Regions from separate parts of the Homo sapiens genome. Here all the other regions are linked to region 7. The links are contacts of gene promoters, found by promoter capture Hi-C in blood cells and fetal thymus (Javierre and others, 2016). All regions are on one chromosome and are shown on one strand. The core of a region is centred on a gene start or on the middle of the fragment in contact, and the rest is flanking DNA. Distances in the headings are between cores, read along the strand shown.

Region 1 (2,700 bases), core at 83-2,582, 600 kb after region 7:
TATCATCAAAGATTATAGGTCTCTGAATATTACTGAATAAAAAATATTAAGCCCTCTTACTTGGTCCTAGATGGCCCTAGGAGCAGATCCAATGAAATAAACTACACAAGAGTGACTGATACTAAAAAACACCAGAACTAGGTTATCTATGAATGGAAAATGCATCTGTGTATCTAGAATCAGCAACCCTAACCTTTAGCACACAGTCTAGAAACTTGAAGAATGAAAACCAACCTCTACACCAAGCTTGCCCAACCCACGGGCATGGCCCAGGACAGCTTTGAATGCGGCCTAACTCGTGAACTTTCTTAAAACAGTATGAGATCTTTCTGTGATTTTTTTTTTTTTTTTTTTAGCTCACCAGCTATCATTAGTGTTAGTGTATTTTACGTGCGGCCCAAGACAATTCTTCTTCCAGCGTGGCCCAGGGAAACCAAAAGATTGGACACCCCTACTCTAAACAGTTCAAAAAGCTCTCATAAAGCCACTGTACCAAAGCAATATACTGTGCTTTTAAGATCTTGTTAGAAAATTATTGACTTGTATATCGTATAATCCTTAAAACTTAATTATCTGGCTTCCTGGGTTTCAGGAAAGTAAAAGCAACTAAACAAAAATGGCAAGCTGTTACCAGCCACATACACCAGCATTCTCAAGAAGAGATAGCTTTCAACCTAATAAGACAAAAAGTAAGTACTGGCCACCAAATGAGACAACTCATCACCTGTATGCTAAATCTGAGTCACTAAGGACACACAGTCTTCTCAGAAGGTTAAAACAAGATTAGATAAAAGTTTAAGCTTCAATTTCTGTGTATCAAATACTCAAACCAATGAAAAATCAGGTAAATAAGTTGTTACTATTCAGAATCTACAGCATGCCATCCTATTATTTATTTAGGACTAAAATGGAAAAAGTCTATGATTCTAGGCTGGCCCTATCAAGGACTGCTGTATGAAAATTTTATTTCAAAAATAGCAGATGGAAGACACAGCTCTGTATTTAACAAACATGAAACTATTAAGCCACCATTTGAGAGCATTCAATGAATAAATACTGAGAAATATTAAATTTGAAAAATAGTGTTAATAACAAGACTGATAAGTTTGGATCTTTTTTTTAAATTGAATGTATAAGATGTGTACAAGTTCCAAAATGTTATCAACAGCACCTGAAAAAACTTTCCTTTAAATTGAGCAACTGTAAAAGACAAAGATCTTAAAAGTATTTCATTTTAATATAGCATGAATTTAACATTCATTAACATTAAAAAATTAAGATTGGAAAATCAATTTTCTTATGGTTTTGGCATTTTTTTAAGACAACAGGGTAATGCTATTAATTCCTTGGGAATTAGTGATTGCTGATAAATTCATTTTTACATATAAAAGTATTAGTTGAACACTTAATACTATAAAAATTGTAGGTGCCTGGGACATAAAGATTCTAATGAAAGAAATAGACATGAATCAAATAATTATAATATAGGAAATTCTCTCACAGATGAGAGATGAAGGCAGCAGCGATCCCAGGACCAGCTGTTGAGAATAAAGTAGAATTTAGGATGATGCAGGGTTTGGGCTTAAGGTAGAGTACATGTTGGTACTAGTAGCTGTGAGAGAATACAGGAGGGGTGGATTATGTGAAAACAGGAATAAATAAGAGGCTGTTTGGAGGAGACATCCAAGTAGATATGTTCACAGGGAAATTGAAGACACTCCAGACAACTCTAGAATTTCTACAAAGGAGTCCAGGGACAGGGGTTAGGAGACACTTCTTGAGGCCAAGTTTCCATACTAACCACACTCCTTTTACATAAATGTTTGTTTTTTGGTTGTTTTACATAGATTGTATGCTTACTCAGTGAAGCTTTCATGTGTAACAGGTCATAGAGATTATGGGGGGCTGCTGCCTACACCCTCTTCCCCTTGTGTTATGAGCGGCTGAATTGGGTTCCACAGATAAATTGGGTCGCTGGAGTACAAAGAAAACCTACTATAAAAAGAAGGGAGGCCAAGCAACAGAACCTAGGGAAACACCAACGTTTAAGAGAGCTGGGGAGAGAAGCCAAACAAATAGTAAATGAGACTGAAAAGGAGAAGGCCAAGAGACAGAAGGAGAACCAGAAGAGACTGGTGCACTGGAGCCAACAGAGGAGAACTTCAGGAAGTAACAGGCAGCAATGCCAAAGATACAGAGAGATCAAATGAGACAAGAAGGATGGAAATGGGATCCTCGGGGCTTGAGACTTCGCAGTTAGGAAGTCATTGGTGACATCTGCAGAAAAAGCTTGGGGTGGGAGGTGGTAAGGAAAAAGGAACAGCCACACCACAGCAGTGTAGATGAATGGGTAAAATGAGGAAGACAGGTAACTGGTGAGGGGTGGGTGGTTCTGGTTCACTTAGGTTGTCAATAAAGTGGAAAAGATTAAACAAGAGATGATATATCCTGATAAAGCAAAGTCCCAGAGAACACAGGAAGGAATGAGCTATTTACCATTTGACATAGAAATTTAAATTAGCGTGTGATGAGAACACTAGCCTCAGTCAGTGTAATAACTGTGATACAGACACTTTCATTTGTTCATTCAAATATTTACAAGCATCTACTATGCTCAGGAACAATACTCGGTGCTGATCATTTACCAACAGAGCCCACCTAACTCCACCCACCCTGAAGGCTGGATATATCTACAGTCGT
Region 2 (2,700 bases), core at 161-2,660, 860 kb before region 7:
TTTAATTCCCAGTCCAGTTCTCTTTATACTGCTATGCAATGCATGTGCTCATGTTCTGGTATGTACTATTATTCTGTGTCAGTGTTATCTTCCCTACAAGATTGTAAATTTCTAGGACCTAACTTCTTAGACATGCTAATAATATTAACTAAGTGAACAAATTAATAGACCCTCAAAACTTTAAATTCAGGAATAGAAAAAAAATAAAGCTTTTTCTTCCTGTCAGCTGATTTTGCAAAGGGTATAAGGAGCCAAAGAGCTGCCACGTTGGTACAGAAGTTGGAAAACACCATACGCTTCAACTGCTGGTTAATTTTTGCTCTAAAAACTTGATGGAGGCCAGGCGCGGTGACTCACGCCTGTAATCTCAGCACTTTGGGAGGCTGAAGCGGGCGGATCACCTGAGGTCAGGAGTTTGAGACCAGCCTGGCCAACATGGTGAAACCTCGTCTCTACTAAAAATACACAAATTAGCCAGGTGTGGTGGCACGTGCCTTTAATCCCAGGTACTCGGGAGGCAGAGGGTGCAGTGAGCCAGAGATTGCGCCACTGCACTCAGCCTGGGCAACAGAGCGAGACTCCATCTCAAAAAAAAAAAAAAGCTTAATAATAAAATGGGCTTTTATATATACAAATCAGCACAAACTCATTTGAGGGAGAGTAAGATTTACCTACTTGCTCACAACTTTTTTTCCCCTGCCTCAGGCTCCTGAGTAGCTGGGATTACAGGGACGCACCACCACACCCAGCTAATCTTTGTATTTTTAGTAGAGACGAGGTTTCACCATGTCGGCCAAGCTGGTGTGATCCACCCGCCTCGGTCTCCCAAAGTGCTGGGATTACAGCGTGAGCCACCGCACCCGGCCACAACTTTCTTCTGTGTAATTTCACCTTAAATACAGCCATTTACTTGGGGGTGGAGTAAGCAAATTGCCTCTTTAATTTCTCTCCCGGGGTGGTAGAACTGTGGCATTAAACAGAAGTGCGAACAGAAGTTGAGAGTGGGAAGAAAGGCTGCCCGGAAGGGGGTCAGGAAAGCTCAGGCAAGCCCACCCTCAGGCACTACAGCTAGACTCCGAGCTTACTGGGCAGTCATCTGATTCGACCAACATCAGTTCGCAGGGCTTAAGCCCAGTCCCTTACGGCGGCCTGGGGAGGGACCAGGCCCAAGTATATAAAGCTCCCTGAGGGTCCGCGTTGGCTTTGCGCCTGTGAGTGTGATTCAAGAACGTCCCAGTGCCCTTGGCTCCTTTCGGAGTGTGACCCCGTGCTTGCACGGGACACGTTACCCAGCTCGGGTGAGAAGGGTATCTTCCGGGAACCTCGCCTTTAATAGCACAACGAGCGCAGAGTCCACTGGATCTGCGAGAAGAAACCGCGCTAACTAGTTTGTCCCTACGGCCGCCTCGTAGTCACTGCCGCGGCGCCTTGAGTCTCCGGGCCGCCTTGCCATGGCTGCCCGTGGTGTCATCGCTCCAGTTGGCGAGAGTTTGCGCTACGCTGAGTACTTGCAGCCCTCGGCCAAACGGCCAGACGCCGACGTCGACCAGCAGAGACTGGTGAGTCCTGCCAGCGGCCCCCACCCCTCTCTGGCTCCCTTGTAGTTTCTGCTTCAGCCCCCTCTACCGCCTCACCCTTGAACCTTTGTACTCCCCCGCATTCGCTCACGGTCTGTGCCCTAGCGCTCACTTGTTCAGTGGAGAGACCGCTTTGTGCTGGGCTTTGACGCCTGGGCGTGGAAGACGGAGCAGTTCTGAGGATCTGTCTCCTCAAGGAGCTTCCAGTCTTGTCTGGGACACAAACCAGAAAACAGGCAATTGCAAATACAGTAAAATAAGTGCTGTATGTGGATTTTCCTATCTCATAGGAGGCCCTAAAAACGTCTTGCAGGGGACGTGGTGGGATCAGGGACGCTTCTTGGAGAAAGCTGTAGTTAAAAATTAAGATCTGAATGAATAAAAACAGTCCATTCAGCAAGGAGAAGGGGAAAAAGTGTTTCGGGTACCAGGACTACTGTCTCCAAAGTCTCCGGCACAGAAACAGGGCCCAGTTGGAAACTCCAAGTGGTGTATTCAGGATGAACTGTAGAGCTGGAAAAAGGAAGGGTCTAACAGAAAACTGTCCAACAGAAGCATATTGTGAGCCACATACGTATTTTTACGTTTTTTTTTTTTTTTTTTTTTTTTGAGACGGAGTCTCGCTCTGTCGCCCAGGCTGGAGTGCAGTGGCGCGATCTCGGCTCACTGCAAGCTCCGCCTCCCGGTTTCAGGCCATTCTCCTGCCTCAGCCTCCCAAGTAGCTGGGACTACAGGCGCCTGCCACCACTCCCGGCTAATTTTTTGTATTTTTAGTAGAGACGGGGGTTTCACCGTGTTAGCCAGGATGGTCTCGATCTGCTTACCTCGTGATCCGCCCGCCTCGGCCTCCCAAAGTGCTGGGATTACAGGCGTGAGCCACCGCGTCCGGCATATTTTTAAGTTTTTTGTAGCCATATTAAACAACTGAAGAGAAACAGGTGGGTTTGATTTTAACCATGTATTTTCTTTAACCTGATATATGCACAGTTGCATGGTAATTTTCAACATTCAATATGAAATATTGCCCAAGTGGTGGTTTAGGCTTGTAATCCCAGCGCTTTAGGAAGCCCAGGCAGGAGGATCACTTGAGGCCATGAGTTTGGAGGACAGCCTGGGCAACACA
Region 3 (2,700 bases), core at 200-2,699, 910 kb before region 7:
CTGTGCTCCCTGAAACATGTGCTGTGTCCACTCAGGGTTAAATGGATTAAGGGCGGTGCAAGATGTGCTTTGTTAAACAGATGCTTGAAGGCAGCATGCTCGTTAAGAGTCATCACCAATCCCTAATCTCAAGTAATCAGGGACACAAACACTGCGGAAGGCCGCAGGGTCCTCTGCCTAGGAAAACCAGAGACCTTTGTTCACTTGTTTATCTGCTGACCTTCCCTCCACTATTGTCCCATGACCCTGCCAAATCCCCCTCTGTGAGAAACACCCAAGAATTATCAATAAAAAAATAAATTAAAAAAAAAAAAAAAAAAAAAAGAAAATCAGCTGGAGACCTCAACCTGCATTTTTAAGAGTCTGAGGGTCTTATTGGATTCATGCCTAGAACAGTTAGAGCCTAAAGGTATAAGGCTGTTGTCCATTGGCCACTGAGATGAGTCCTCAAGAAGAGGTAGCTACATTACAAATGGCCCACATTCACAGTTTATGAAAAGAAAGAATGCACAAGTATTTCCTGTACTTTTAATGTGATTCTCATGAAAGAGAATGCCAACCTAAAGCCATCTAAAGGGACTTGCCTATGAGGGCCATGTCAAGAACAATGGAACCCTAAAAGGAGTCTACCAAGAGCCAACAGTGAGGCCAAGCCCTGCCGACAGGAGAGGAAATCGTCTGTATCAGGGAAATCCAGGTGGGAGATGGGTAGCAGAGAGTGGGGGATGCTGAAAAACTCGAAGATTCCCAGGAAGAAGAACGAGCAGTCAGTGTAAACCTAGGCTCAAAGAAACAAGGATCACTGCATTACGAACCCCGAACTCTCTTATCTCCCTCCACTTCCCCCTTCAATCCCAGAAAGGTCAGAATCTGGGAACAGAGCCATGAATAGAGAAAAGTCCAGCCACACCCTGTTCTACTTGCTGGATTCCTACCTGAAACAGGCCTGGGTTAGAGCAGGGGAGAAGCTCTCATCTCCATTAGTAACAGAATTTTGATCAGTACCTAAGACTGAACATTAATTACTGAAATGAGACTGTTTTAGGCCTAGAATTAGCTAGGTCACTCTACTGTTTGAAAGAGACCAAAAAGCTTTAATTTCTTACATCATCCAAAAAGCCTGAGAAAGACTGTTCTCACATAGCCAATCTCAGGGGCCAAGCTAGGAAAGATTAAAGCTGTTTTCTGATTGTACCCTTCGAGTCTGGCTCATTTGCACAAAGGAGGCACTTGAGATTAGCCCTTTTCACGAAATACAGTGGGATGATGATAATATTACTATTACTTCCTCCCATTAAATAATTTCCAAATTAGATTATTTTTACCTATGTTCTTGGTGGGGGGGCAGGGTGTGGGGAGGGAACTTCTCTAAAACTATCACAACCGTAAGTGGCCCCTGACACAAGACATGCTTGTATTAACTAAATCTGTGGACACTGTGTGTCCAACCCTTTAAATTTTCGGCTGCTGATAGAAGAGAAAAAGCAAAGAAAAGATGTGAATGATTCCCATTAGGTGGCATCCCTTCTGAATGATTCAAACACCGGCAAAGGCGGCCCAGACAATTCATCACACTGGCAGCACCTGCTCCAGAGGCCCAGAGGTCTCTATCTGTAGAATAAAAACACAGGTGATGTTTCTCTTATACCCACCACCGGGTTTCCAGCTCACTCTCATCTCCCTCTTGGAACTGACTCTCCACTCCTTTTCTTCAGATTAACATTTAACTGCCATGATTAATATGCTTGTGCCAGCATTTACTCCCATCCTGACTAGTGCTATGACAGGGCATATGCAGCGCCCCAGGTAAGCTTTTTCAGAGTCAATCATCTAAGAGGCTCTAAATTATTTGGCAATTAAGCCATCACTGTGTTCCCATAGAACTCTGGCATTACAGGTTTGCTACTTGCAGAAAATCAGAAAAAAAAAAAAATACACACACACACACACACACACACACACACACAATTAAATGCATTCCACCCAAGCAGCACAATGACCAAACAAACTACAATGGACATTCACAGACAGACATATGCAAGCTGCTTACAGGATCCATAGGTGGCCCCGCCCTCCCTCATTCCGGCAGCGGCTGTGCTTGCTTACCTAGCCGTCTGGGCACCAGGTGAACCGGTTTAGCTCTGTTCTGCTCCTTCCACTTCTCCAGGTTGGCCAGCTCCTGCTCCGCAACTAAGCCAGGCGAGAAATATCAAATCGTCAATTATTAGACTTCTAAAAGAAAACCAGTCCCTTCAAAGCATAAGAAACAACTATTAGAAGGCAATTAACTATATGTGAGCATGAGTGAACAAGGCTTCCAGGTTAGAAACACAATATTCAGCCCTGACCCGTACAGGTCATCCTGGGCCCGGCCCTGTGGCACATTCTCACCAAGAGTCAGCACAGAGGGTTCGAATTTGAAAAACCACCTGGGCTCCTACTAAAAGAAGTATAGATTTTCCTACCATTCTGGCATTTTTAAAACTCTATATCAAGTTAATTTTTAAAGTTACCTATAGAAAATGTGTGCAAAACTAGAATATTTTCACGTCAATAAGAACTTTCCACACATAGGTAAACATATCCCCAGAGAATTCTGATGCCCATACTCGCTTTATCTTCAATGCTCCCAAGCTTACTGCGACTCTAGGGAATGAGGGCTCGGTGCTACAGGTGGAGACCCTTGCTCTGGTTTCAGGC
Region 4 (2,700 bases), core at 108-2,607, 890 kb before region 7:
GGGAGGCAGAGGTGGCAGTGAACTGAGATCACGCCACTGCACTACAGCCTGGGTGACACAGCAAGATTCCATCTCAAAAAAAAAAAAAAAAAAAAAAAAAAACAACTTGCAGCCCCATCTCAGTTTCTGGGGAGAGGCGGGGGCTGGAGATTTAATCACCAATGGCCACTGATTTAATCAATTATGCCTAGGTAATAAAGCCTCAATAAAAGTTCTTGAACTATAAGGTTTGGGGGTCTTCCAGGTTGGCGAACACATCAAAGTATCTACCTAGAGTATGGAAACTCTTCACACCCCACCACCTACCCCTTCATCTCCCAAAAGATGCCTTACGCATCTCTTCCACTTGACTGAGTTGTATCCTTTATGATAAACCTGTAATCATAAATATAGTAATTTCTGCGAGTTTTGTGAGTCACTCTAATGAATTATCAAAACTGGGGAAGGGGAGATGCATGGGAACCCCCAACTTTGTAGTCTGGTGGGTAGACATACAGGTAGCCTGGAGACTCCATTTGCAGCTAGTGTCTGAAGTCTGAAGTGGGGGGCAGTTTTGTGGGACTGAGCCCTTAATTTGTGGGGTCCACACTAACTCTGAGTAGTTAGTGTTAGAATTGAACTGTGGGACACCTAGTTGGGGTCACAGTTAGTTGGTGTTAGAATGACATATTTGATGTCAGGAAAAAAAAAACCACACAACTCCTAATGATCCTGTAGACCAAAGCTCAAACGTCACCTCTAAGGAAAGATCTTCCTGCTCCCAAGACCAGCTGAGACCCCAGCTTTCCTTGCAAGCTTGTCCAGCCCAGGGCCCACAAGGTGCATGTAGCCCAGGTGGCTCAGGATGGCTTTGAATGTGGCCCAACACAAATTCATAAACTTTCTTAAAACATTGAGGTTTTTTTGCGATTTTTTTTTTAAGCTCATCCACTATGATTAGTGTTAGTGTATTTTGTGTGGGGCCAAGACGATTCTTCTTCCCATGTGGCCCCAGGAAGCCAAAAGATTGGATACCCCTGCTTTAAAGTATACATATTTGTTCACATATTAATAAATGTCTGTCCCATCAATTAGACAGTAAGCTTCATAAGGGCTTATTTTGTGTTGAATAGTTATTTGTTCCTAGTTTTTAATTAGTTCTTTTAAGCTAGAGATCCTCTCATTCCATGGTGGTTATGAGGATTGAAAGAGTTAGTATACATAGTGTGCATTTACATACTAGCTACTACGTAAGTGCTATTATTATTATTGCTCATGTTGAAGTCTCTACAATACTAATACGAAGTAGGCCACAAAAATGTTAAGATTAACATAATTTACATACAAATTCAGCTCAAGTTAACTGTAAAATAAAATTCCATATTATAGGTTCATTTTCAAAATATATTTTTATTTTCTTCAAACAGCATCAAGCTAAAGGACCAGGTATGGTTAGACAAGTACATGAATGTGAATTCAACCCTATATTACCAGCACAGGCAAGACCCCATTTCCCAGAATTGGATAAAACTAGGTAAATGCATGTCTTTGTCTTATATTTATCTAGAGGTGATATAAATAATGTAAAATATTTACAAACAAGCAGAATATTAAAAGGAAGGATAAAGGTTTACTTTGGATTAGAAGTTTGTGTAAGCTTTTTTCTCTTTTAATTTGTGTAGACAGCTTTGATATTTAAGGACAAGACAAAAATCACCAAGTAAAAATAATTGGGAAAGCCAGTATGAATTAGTAAATACTTATAATAACTTAAATCCAAATTCCATCAAGAACTCAATCTTGGCCAGGCGCGGTGGCTCACGCCTGTAATCCCAGCACTTTGGGAGGCCGAGGCAGGCAGATCACAAGGTCAGGAGTTTGAGACCGGCCTGGCCAATGTGGCGAAACCCCGTCTCTACTAAAAATACGAAAATTAGCCAGGCATGGTGGCATGTGCCTGTGGTACCAGCTGCTCAGGAGGCTGAGGCAGAGGAGTCGCTTGAACACGGGAGGCAGAGGTTGTGGTGAGCTGAGATTGCGCTGTTGCACTCCAGCCTGAGCGACAGAGCGAGACTCTGTCTCAAAAAAAAAAAAAAAGAACTCAATCTTGTCTGAGAGTCTATCAGAGGTACTCAGAATAATTTAATATATTGATAGCCACAGATTTTTACTAGTATACTTTCTTTCTATGCAAATAGGTGGTTTATTTATTTATTTATTTATTTATTTGAGACAGGGTCTCACTCTGTTGCCCAGGCTGGAGTACAGTGGTACAATCACAGCTCACTGTAGTCTTGGAGCTCCTGAGCTCAAGCTATCCTCCTGCCTCAGCCTCTTGAGTAGCTGGGACAGAGGTATGTGCCACCGTGCCCAGATAATTTAAATTTTTTTTTTTTTTTTTTTTTTTTTGGAGAGACAAGGGACTCCCTATGTTACTCCTGGACTAAAGCAATCCTCCCACATTGGCTTTCCAAAGTGCTGAGGTTACAGGCACAAGCCCCTGCGCCCGACCACAAGTAGGTGTTTTAAACCAGTGTTTTTTTTTAACAAGGCACAAACATTCGACTTAAGGGTGACAGCATAGTACTTTACCAGGAATAAAGTTATGTTTTACACATATACACGTGGAAAAATTAAAACCCTATGAAGTTGGTATTGTCTTATATTAAGTAATGAGGAAACTGAGGCATAAAGTAGCTAAGGATTTTGTTCAAAGAGCAA
Region 5 (2,700 bases), core at 189-2,688, 580 kb after region 7:
GCAATTGTATCTGGAATTGGTTCCTTCCCGTGGGTTGTTGGTCTCGCTGACTTAAAGAATAAAGCCGTGGACCCTCGCAGTGAGTGTTACAGCTCAGCTCATAAAGGTAGTGCAGACCCAAAAAGTGAGCAGCAGCAAGATTTATCGCTAACAGTAAAACAACAAAGCTTCCACGGCGGAGAAGAAGACCCGAGCGGGTTGCTGCTGCTGGCTGGAGTAGCCAGCTTTTATTCCCTTATTTGGCCCTGCCCACATCCTGCTGATTGGTCCATTTTACAGAGCACTGATTGGTCCATTTTACAGAGTACCGATTGGTCTGTTTTTACAGAGTGCTGATTGGTGCGTTTACAAACCTTTAGCTAGACACAGAGCGCTGATTGGTCCATTTTTACAGAGTGCTGATTGGTGCGTTTACAAACCTTTAGCTAGACACAGAGCACTGATTGGTGCGTTTCCAATCCTTTACCTAGACAGAAAAGTTCTCCAAGTCCCCACCCGACCCAGAAGCCCAGCCGGCTTCACCTTTCACAATGACTAACAATTCTCTAGTATAGCCAACACTCAGTCAAAAGGAACCTAGAGGAAACAGAGACAGTGTAGGGAACTGAAGAAACTTGTAAAATCCTAAAAGATTACATGGATAAAATAAGAGGAGGACAACATTCAGAACACTAGAAAGAGCTCTTGGAAACTGAAAAATTGATATGAGAGCATAAGTGAAAATGTGCTAGAATAGAAAGTAAAGTTGAAGAACTATCTCAGAAACTAGAACAAAATACCAAAAAGGTTAATACAGGAAAGAAAATAAATAACAGCTATTAATATTTAGAAGGGCTAACACCCTAACAAAAGAAGTTTCAGAAATGTGCAATATGGACAGGAGAAAAGTGTCATAAAATAATTCAAGAAAACTTCCTAGAACTACAGATCAGGCTTTTTAAAATTAACAGAGCCTATCAAGTACAATCTGTTCCATTATAAAACTTGTTTGGAAAACACCAATTTGTTCCAACACAATTCATATGTTAGAGAACAATTTGAGCGTAATGCACATTTCACATTTGCTTATGTGTGATTTTGTTTGTGAGAAACATCAGGTGAACGCAGGAAACTGCACCCAGCTGAACCAAAACTGCACCTAGGAAAACGCAAACAGCACATATCTCAAACATGTAACAGCTACCTCAGTTCGGCACGTTTGTTACTCTGCAAAATTATGTTTTGCTATTCTTTCGCAAAGGATAACTTTTCTATATAAAAACACGCATTCAACATCTCAAATATGTCTAATCACACTGGATCAAAAACATCAAGCAGCATGCACAAAAGAAAAGCTTTTAAATATTGAGAAGCCAGAAATAAGGCATTTTGAAAGAAATGAGAGAATATGTGATGAGAACATGTGGTATCTCCCAAGCAACAGAAATAAAATTCATGTTGTGGGCCTTCACAAACAACGCATGGAAATAAAAGAAACGCCTATTGGTAAAGCAATTTCAAGGGCTGCAAAAAGAGCAACCCCTAAAGAAACAGAAGAAAAAGAAAGCTTGTTGAATATATGTACTGAAAAGCAAATAGCAAAAAAAAAAAAAAAAAAAAAGGAATACTTTTTCTCAGAATCAAAGAGAAAGCACTATTTATATAAAAAGGAAATCGCTAAATCCTGCAGAATTTGCTCCTTTTGTGCTAGCAGTGGCTGGTTTAGTAGTTTCAAAAATCTCTATGATTTCCAAAGCCTTCGGTTGTAGGGTGAAGCAGAGAGCTCACCTAAGAAAACTGCAAAAAGAATTTCCAGCAGTGATACAGAAGCTAACTGAAGAAGGTGGCTATATATTGGGTCAAACTTTCAATTCTGATGAAATAGTTATCTATTACACATACATCAGATCTGTCAACTGACACTGTTTCATATTCTTGGACAGAATTAGAAAACTAAGTTTCCAAGGATTTCAAAGTCTGCTCATATAAAAGTAGAACAAGTTCTAGGATCTACTTTCACTTTTGAAACAGATAGGTGAAATCTTTGAAGCCTTTCCAGTCACTATATTCTATCAAATCTGATCCTCCTAATTTCTCACTGTGATTCTATCAGCAAAAATTCTTAATGTTCTCTTAATAGTATGATCCTTTTCCTTTTTAATTCCAACTAAAGCATCATTTCCAAACAACCTTTGAAAGCATCTATGATGTTGTTTTAGCCATTTAAGTCCATAAATGCAATTATAAAACATCTTCATCAGTACTGACTTTAGTGCAGCTTTTTAAAGAGTCAGATTTTGAGCACTGGAGTTAGAGCCTAATTCAAATTTCCAAAAATCACTTATTCATAGTAAAATGGAAGTGATAATACATATTTCATAATGATGGCAACAGCAGCCCATCTAGAGCAGCCACTGCAAAGACGCTGGCTGCAGCTGGGGAGGCGCGGCGGGCATTGCAGGCTCCAGAGAGACAGCAAGGGCCAGGAACAGGCGGGAGCCCCACCCCCTACCAAGTTAGCAGGACAGAAGCCTGCACTCCCAGGCACAGCTGCAGCTGCCCAGCCGTACCTCCAGACCTGGGCATCCCTGTGCTCTCGGGGACCCAGGAAGCCCCACTTCCCCCACAGGCTTGGAAGGGCCCGATCCTGCTCTCTGGTCTCTCCCCACTCCCAGTGCCCGCTCTGATTTTGCAGCAAAGTTATGGCCAAGCCTGGGCGCT
Region 6 (2,700 bases), core at 161-2,660, 840 kb before region 7:
TTCCTGGGTTCAAGAACTTAAAGCCAAATATGCAACCTGGTTTGGCAAGCCTGTGATGAGTTCAGGGGCTGCAAGTGCTCTCCAGGCTGTCAGGAAGGACATGGTTGATGACAGGAGCAAGATTTTCTGACCAGTCACATTTATTCACATTTTGGTTTAAAAAAGCTGCTTTTTAAATTTGTTTATTTTTATTTTTTTGAAAGGCTCTGTCACTCAGGCCGGAGTCCAGTGGTATGATCTTGGCTCACTGCAAACCTCCGTCTCCCGGGTTCAAGCGAGTCTCCCCCCTCAGCCTCCCCAGTAGCTGGGACTACAGGCGTGTGCCACCACTCCCAGCTAATTTTTGTATTTTTAGTAGAGACGGGGTTTCACCATGTTGGCCAGACTGGTCTCGAACTCCTGACTCTCAGTTGATCTACCCGCCTTGGTCTCCCAAAGTGCTGGGATTACAGGCATGAGCTGCCATGCCTGACCTCAAAAGCTTCTTATATTATGAGAAAGTAGAGCCATGACTCACACTGTTATTTTGAGTAAATGCAAAACAGTACTTAAAAGATCATTCTTGTTATTATTTATTTACTTATTCTAGACCTTTTCTGACAGTGTGAAAAAGATTATTCTTAAAAAATCATTATCTATAGTGAAGATTTAACTTTGAGGAGTTTTTAATTATGCTGGAGAGTGGAGTAACATTCATTTGGGGTAAGCCTAAGAGTTTTGTTTCCTAACATGTTTGGCCTCTGATTTTGTTGTTTCGCCCTTTTATTTATTCACTAGTCTTGCTGTAGATACTAATGCTTGCCTGTGGTTTAAGAGAAATTAAGCAACTTAAAAACAGAGCAAATAGAAATGTAGTTAGCTTTGCCTTTCTTTTTTGCTTAATGTAAGGGTTTCGTGGGAATTGGTGTTTTGGGAGAAGTTCAAATGTATTTGCTTTTGGCAATGGAACAATAATGGTAAAGGTAGGGTGTCTTAATGTAGATTGGTTCAATTTAGATATGAAAGTCTGAAATTTATATTGGCTTGAAGATTTTAGGGCAGGATAATTTTATAAATTCTCGTTATTGTCATTTTATTGTGTCTGACACTTTTTCTTGAATGTAAATTCTCCTCCCCTCCTTATTCTAATCTGCATGTATAATACCTCTTTTACCCAAATTATATTGATTTGCCAGCAGTCTTTCTTGTTTCCTCTCTTTTTTTCTCCTTTCCACTTGCTGTTGTTTAAATTCAAAGAGTTTTCTTTGTGGAGACTGAACCTAATAGTAAGACAGCATAAAACACTGAGTTCAGCAGAAAGTGATTTGCTTGTGATTAACCCTTGAGAATTAACTCACTGCAAGATAACAAAGAATGAATGTTTTCCAAACATCTGGCTCATTCTTCTTTTCCATTAGTAGATGAGACCTCTCCATTTACCCTCTAGGTGTTAGGAATTCTCATACTGTTTCACTTAGGCTTTATCATACTCGTCACGGCATATTGTTAGAAAGTAAGTCCAAAAGAGAGTTCATGACATACCCTTTCTCTGCCACAGACCTCTCACAGTCCTTGCAGCAAAAGGCAGTTAGTGTCATTCTTTTAGTTGTTCAAGACAATAACCTTGACTCTTCTCTTTTCCTTTTAGTTGCTCAAGACAACTAAAAGGTCCTTTTAGTTCCTTTTGGTTGCAAAGACTTTATTTTCTTTGTCTTCCGAGAGACTTTTGGATATATTTACCTGGTCCAGGGTATTTTGAAGCATGACCATATGTTAGATTCTTAATTACGTTTAACTAGCATTGTCCATTATATTTTCTCATTTCAAAACCTTGACTCCATATCCAGTGTCTCAGCAAATCCTATTGGCCTTACCTCCGAACTCTATCTAGTATCTCACCACTTTCCTCATTTCCATCATTAATCGCTGTAGCCCAAGTGACCATTATCTCTTTCATGGATTATTTTAATAGACTTACAACTCATCCCCATGCCTCTGCTTTTCATCCTCTACAATCTATTCTCAACATGACAAGTAGAATGATCCTTAGAATTTTAATTGAAATAATCTTAGGCCTCTGCTCAAAACAATGATGTACTGTATCACTCGGAGAAAAGCTAGTCTTTATGTTGACCATATAAGGCCCAGCATGATCTGCTCCCCTTGTGACCTGTTCGACCTTGTTGCCTATTTTTTTCTCTTTCTCTTCCTGCTGTATGCACACTGGCCTTCTGGCTATTCGTTAGGCACACTGGGCACACCTGTGCTTTAGGGACTTTACACTTGTTCCCATTGCTAGTCCAAAATCTAAGGAATCCTTTTTCTTGCTTTAATTTTTTTCCAAAAGTCATTTTTTTCAGTGAAGCTTGCCCTACTCACTTTAAATTTGTTGCTCTTGTAGCAGGACAAGCCGCAGGCAAAACCTCTCAGACATCGAGTTGTAGAAGGAAGGGCTTTATTCAGCTGGGAGCATCGGCAAGCTACTGTCTTAAAATCCAAGCTCCCCGAGTGCACAATTTCCGTCCCTTTTACGGGCACACAACACTAAAGATTTTATATGAAAGGGTTGTGATTGATTGAGCAATCTAGGGGATATGTGACGGGGTTTCATGCACTGGTAGTCAGAGTGAAACAGAACAGAGCAGGGAGTTTCACAATGTTCTTCCATACAATGCCTGAAATCTATGGGTAACATCGGGTTCTAAGTCATGAGTTGATTTT
Region 7 (2,700 bases), core at 74-2,573:
AAGGGTGGGTTTCCATTCTGGGTTAGTGCTCCCAGTCTCTAGTCAAGCACAAGAACATGCCTACCCCAGAGGGCTCTTCCAAATTCCCAGCTATCTGAGATTATGAGACAAAGGTTCTTTAGCGCCTACCAAATGAGCAACAATGAAGATAAAAGGGACCTCTCCTTCCATCATAACCAGTTCCCCAGGAAGCACCATTTCTCTTACTCTTGGAAGGTCGGATATTTTTTCCCTTTACCATACACTGGCCTTCCATGTCCTAACTGCTATTTTCAAATAAATGAACGTTATATTCTTGGAGGACAGATCAGGGATGCTAAACTGCACCTTTATCATGATTTTAGGGATGAGCGCCTTTTACTTAAGTCCTGCTAGTGGCACATATTTTAAAAGGCCATAGAGGACATCCGTGTTGTCAACACAAGTGAAGGCGCTCGGAAGAGTGTTGGTCAGCAAGAATCAGCACAAAGACATTGGAGGAGAGACAACAGCTTGTTTCTGGAAACAAATGAACAACAAAAAAACACTAAAACATCTCGAGGGGGCCCCTGACTTGAGCCCTGCATGGGAAAAGCTGCCAAGAGCTAGCATGACAAGGGACTGGCCCTGGGCTGCGGTGAGGAAACCCAGCGTCCTGACCACACTGCTGGGTCAGCGAGGCGTCCCTCAGAGACCGGAAACGCGGACTTCAGCTCGCTTGGGAAACGGCTTCCATTAGCAGAAGGGAGACTGCGGTTTAGTCCCGAGGTCGCTCCAGCAGCCCGGCCTCACGCGACCCACCATTCCCGCCGCCCCCTCACGGTGCCCGCCGTTCCCGCCGCCCGGCTTTCTAACCGGGCCCCTAGTTCCCCGCCCCGTGCCCTCTGGAGACCTGCAGCTCCTGCCGCCCTGCGCCCGCTCCCAGGGCCCGTCGTTCCGCCGCCCTATCCCTCCTCAAGGGGCCCCTAGCTGCCTCCTCGCGACCCTTTCCGGACTCGGCCTGCCCACTCCTGCCCGCTAACCCGCCTGGCTCCCGGGCGAGAGCCCTCGCGCGGCTCTGGTTCCTGTTCCTCTAACGCCGCCGGGGCTGCGGGATGCCGACTCCGCGGACCGCCCAGACCCGGAACTGCTGAGGCAGCAGCGGGCTCGCGGCGCTTGGCTCATCCCGGGATTCCCCAGCTCTCGCGCTGGGCCCGCCGCGTTCGCACCAAGCACGCCAGGCGGCCCTGGCCTACCTCCCTCCCGCCTCCCGGCAGCTGGCACGAGGGAACCTGGCCGTCAGGTTTCCCCTGGGATCCTGGGACGGTATCAGGCGGGGAATCTGTGCGGCCGCGGCGAGGTAGGTGAGGTGAGGCGGGGCGAGGTGGGCGAGGGGGGCGAGGTGAGGCGGGGCGAGGCGGGGCGAGGCGAGGCGGGGCGAGGTGGGCGAGGTGGGCGAGGTGAGGCGGGGCGGGTGTCGTCGCGCTGGGCCGAGCTTACGACTCCAGCTGACCCGCTCGCGGCTGCCCAATTTCGTTGAGGCTCAGGACGAGGGACGGGGCGGCAAATTGTCACAGAGGTCGCCGTAGACCGGTGTGCAACCGAAGGTGAAGAGCGGGAAGGCGAGGACCGAATCGCCTCTGGTGTGCGTTGTCCGACAGGAAGTCCCGAATGGGCTGTGAGCCGCCGGTGGAGGTGCCCGGGCAGGTGCAGAGCCACAGCCTGCGCCCCGTGAGCCGAGGCGGGTAGGAGGAACAGGGACCTGGCGGCGACACACGTTGGGCGGAAATTCACAATGAACAGGGAAGGGGGGACGGTCACCCACTCAAAACTGGCTAAATGAACCTCAGAGGGAGCCCCGAGAGATGGGGAGCAAAGGTTAGGGGAAGCGGCAGGAGAAAACCTTCTTGGGGCAAAGGGCGTCACCAAAGGGGGTCACCGGAGCCCCGCAGGTTGGGGTGGGAGGGCTGGGCTGGAGGTGAGCAAAGCTGCACGGGGAGAATGAATTAAGAAAGTTGAGAGGAAGCCTGTCTCATCCAAATCACTATAGCTTTTGTGGTCATTGCTAAGTGTGGAGTACTGCGCAAATCCTGAAGGGAACTCTATTAGCCATCTCAGCTTTTATCATCTTAAAACGCGAATTTCGCGTGCAGCTCCATTTAGCTTCGTAAACTTAAGCCCCCGCATATGAAAGGATGAGACCTAATATGACAATCATGTCAGGACTAATGATATATCACACAGGTTGACACTCTGCAATTTAAAAACAGGACTTTGTCTAAACTCCACAAGTAATTCCTTACTCAAAAGTTCTGTGTAAACAAAACAGAGGAACTGTCGTGCTGCTGGAAAGATGTACCAGCATTTTCACAAAACGAATTAAAAGATGGCTTTGCTTTCACTGTCATGGTTCTGTTGTGACAGAGTAGACTGGCTTTTCTGGGAGGGGCCTAGATTTACTATTTTAGTTACATTTTAAAATCAGTGTAATTACTTCGTTTTTAATCTACCACAAATTTCTGTTGTAACTATAAGATTTATATAATCTTATATTCTTACACTAATTTTTATTTGCAGGTGATTTATTTGGCATAAAAGTATTCTTTCAAGGATGGCAGAAGCTGTTTTGATTGATCTTTTTGGTTTGAAATTGAACTCTCAAAAAAACTGCCATCAGACATTACTGAAGACTTTGAATGCTGTCCAATACCACCATGCTGCCAAGGCCAAGTTTCTCTGTAT

What was found. The method cuts DNA at HindIII sites, captures the fragments that hold promoters and counts their contacts. A CHiCAGO score of 5 or more calls a contact.
Region 1: a fragment that was not itself captured here is called in contact with the fragment with the promoter of CCDC122 in region 7 in 4 of 17 cell types (fetal thymus, activated CD4 T cells, naive B cells and 1 more); the score reaches 7.0 in fetal thymus.
Region 2: a contact is called between the fragment with the promoter of DNAJC15 here and the fragment with the promoter of CCDC122 in region 7, in 17 of 17 cell types (M2 macrophages, M1 macrophages, monocytes and 14 more). The highest score is 33.7, in M2 macrophages.
Region 3: a fragment that was not itself captured here is called in contact with the fragment with the promoter of CCDC122 in region 7 in 14 of 17 cell types (monocytes, total CD8 T cells, naive CD4 T cells and 11 more); the score reaches 10.8 in monocytes.
Region 4: a contact is called between a fragment that was not itself captured here and the fragment with the promoter of CCDC122 in region 7, in 4 of 17 cell types (M1 macrophages, M0 macrophages, monocytes and 1 more). The highest score is 6.9, in M1 macrophages.
Region 5: a contact is called between a fragment that was not itself captured here and the fragment with the promoter of CCDC122 in region 7, in 1 of 17 cell types (naive CD4 T cells). The highest score is 5.2, in naive CD4 T cells.
Region 6: a contact is called between a fragment that was not itself captured here and the fragment with the promoter of CCDC122 in region 7, in 2 of 17 cell types (monocytes and M1 macrophages). The highest score is 10.3, in monocytes.

The regions. Positions count from the first base shown.
Region 1 is chr13:44,478,988-44,481,687 of GRCh38, forward strand. The region is part of intron 1 of TSC22D1 (TSC22 domain family member 1); the gene reads right to left. Among named protein-coding and RNA genes, the nearest start is that of TUSC8, 74 kb to the left of the region's middle. The HindIII fragment of the contact is 1,069 bases long and covers 799-1,867 here.
Region 2 is chr13:43,022,176-43,024,875 of GRCh38, forward strand. It overlaps DNAJC15 (DnaJ heat shock protein family (Hsp40) member C15), which reads left to right and starts at 1,411. Exons shown (of 6, transcript NM_013238.3): 1 at 1,411-1,559. The coding sequence starts at 1,452. RefSeq lists enhancers at 1,230-1,289, 1,300-1,349, 1,860-1,909. The HindIII fragment of the contact is 4,162 bases long and covers 601-2,700 here.
Region 3 is chr13:42,966,988-42,969,687 of GRCh38, forward strand. It overlaps EPSTI1 (epithelial stromal interaction 1), which reads right to left. Exons shown (of 11, transcript NM_033255.5): 3 at 2,107-2,190. Among named protein-coding and RNA genes, the nearest start is that of EPSTI1, 24 kb to the right of the region's middle. The HindIII fragment of the contact is 719 bases long and covers 1,091-1,809 here.
Region 4 is chr13:42,986,670-42,989,369 of GRCh38, forward strand. All of the region lies in intron 1 of EPSTI1 (epithelial stromal interaction 1), which reads right to left. Among named protein-coding and RNA genes, the nearest start is that of EPSTI1, 4.2 kb to the right of the region's middle. The HindIII fragment of the contact is 554 bases long and covers 1,081-1,634 here.
Region 5 is chr13:44,456,059-44,458,758 of GRCh38, forward strand. All of the region lies in intron 1 of TSC22D1 (TSC22 domain family member 1), which reads right to left. All of the region lies in intron 3 of LOC124903167 (a long non-coding RNA gene), which reads left to right. Among named protein-coding and RNA genes, the nearest start is that of TUSC8, 51 kb to the left of the region's middle. The HindIII fragment of the contact is 212 bases long and covers 1,333-1,544 here.
Region 6 is chr13:43,042,935-43,045,634 of GRCh38, forward strand. All of the region lies in intron 1 of DNAJC15 (DnaJ heat shock protein family (Hsp40) member C15), which reads left to right. Among named protein-coding and RNA genes, the nearest start is that of DNAJC15, 21 kb to the left of the region's middle. RefSeq lists an enhancer at 2,664-2,700. The HindIII fragment of the contact is 1,863 bases long and covers 480-2,342 here.
Region 7 is chr13:43,878,417-43,881,116 of GRCh38, forward strand. CCDC122 (coiled-coil domain containing 122) reads right to left here and starts at 1,324. Exons shown (of 7, transcript NM_144974.5): 1 at 1,215-1,324. LACC1 (laccase domain containing 1) reads left to right here and starts at 1,488. Exons shown (of 7, transcript NM_153218.4): 1 at 1,488-1,703; 2 at 2,536-2,700. The coding sequence starts at 2,570. RefSeq lists a silencer at 1,226-1,375. The HindIII fragment of the contact is 5,095 bases long and covers 1-2,700 here.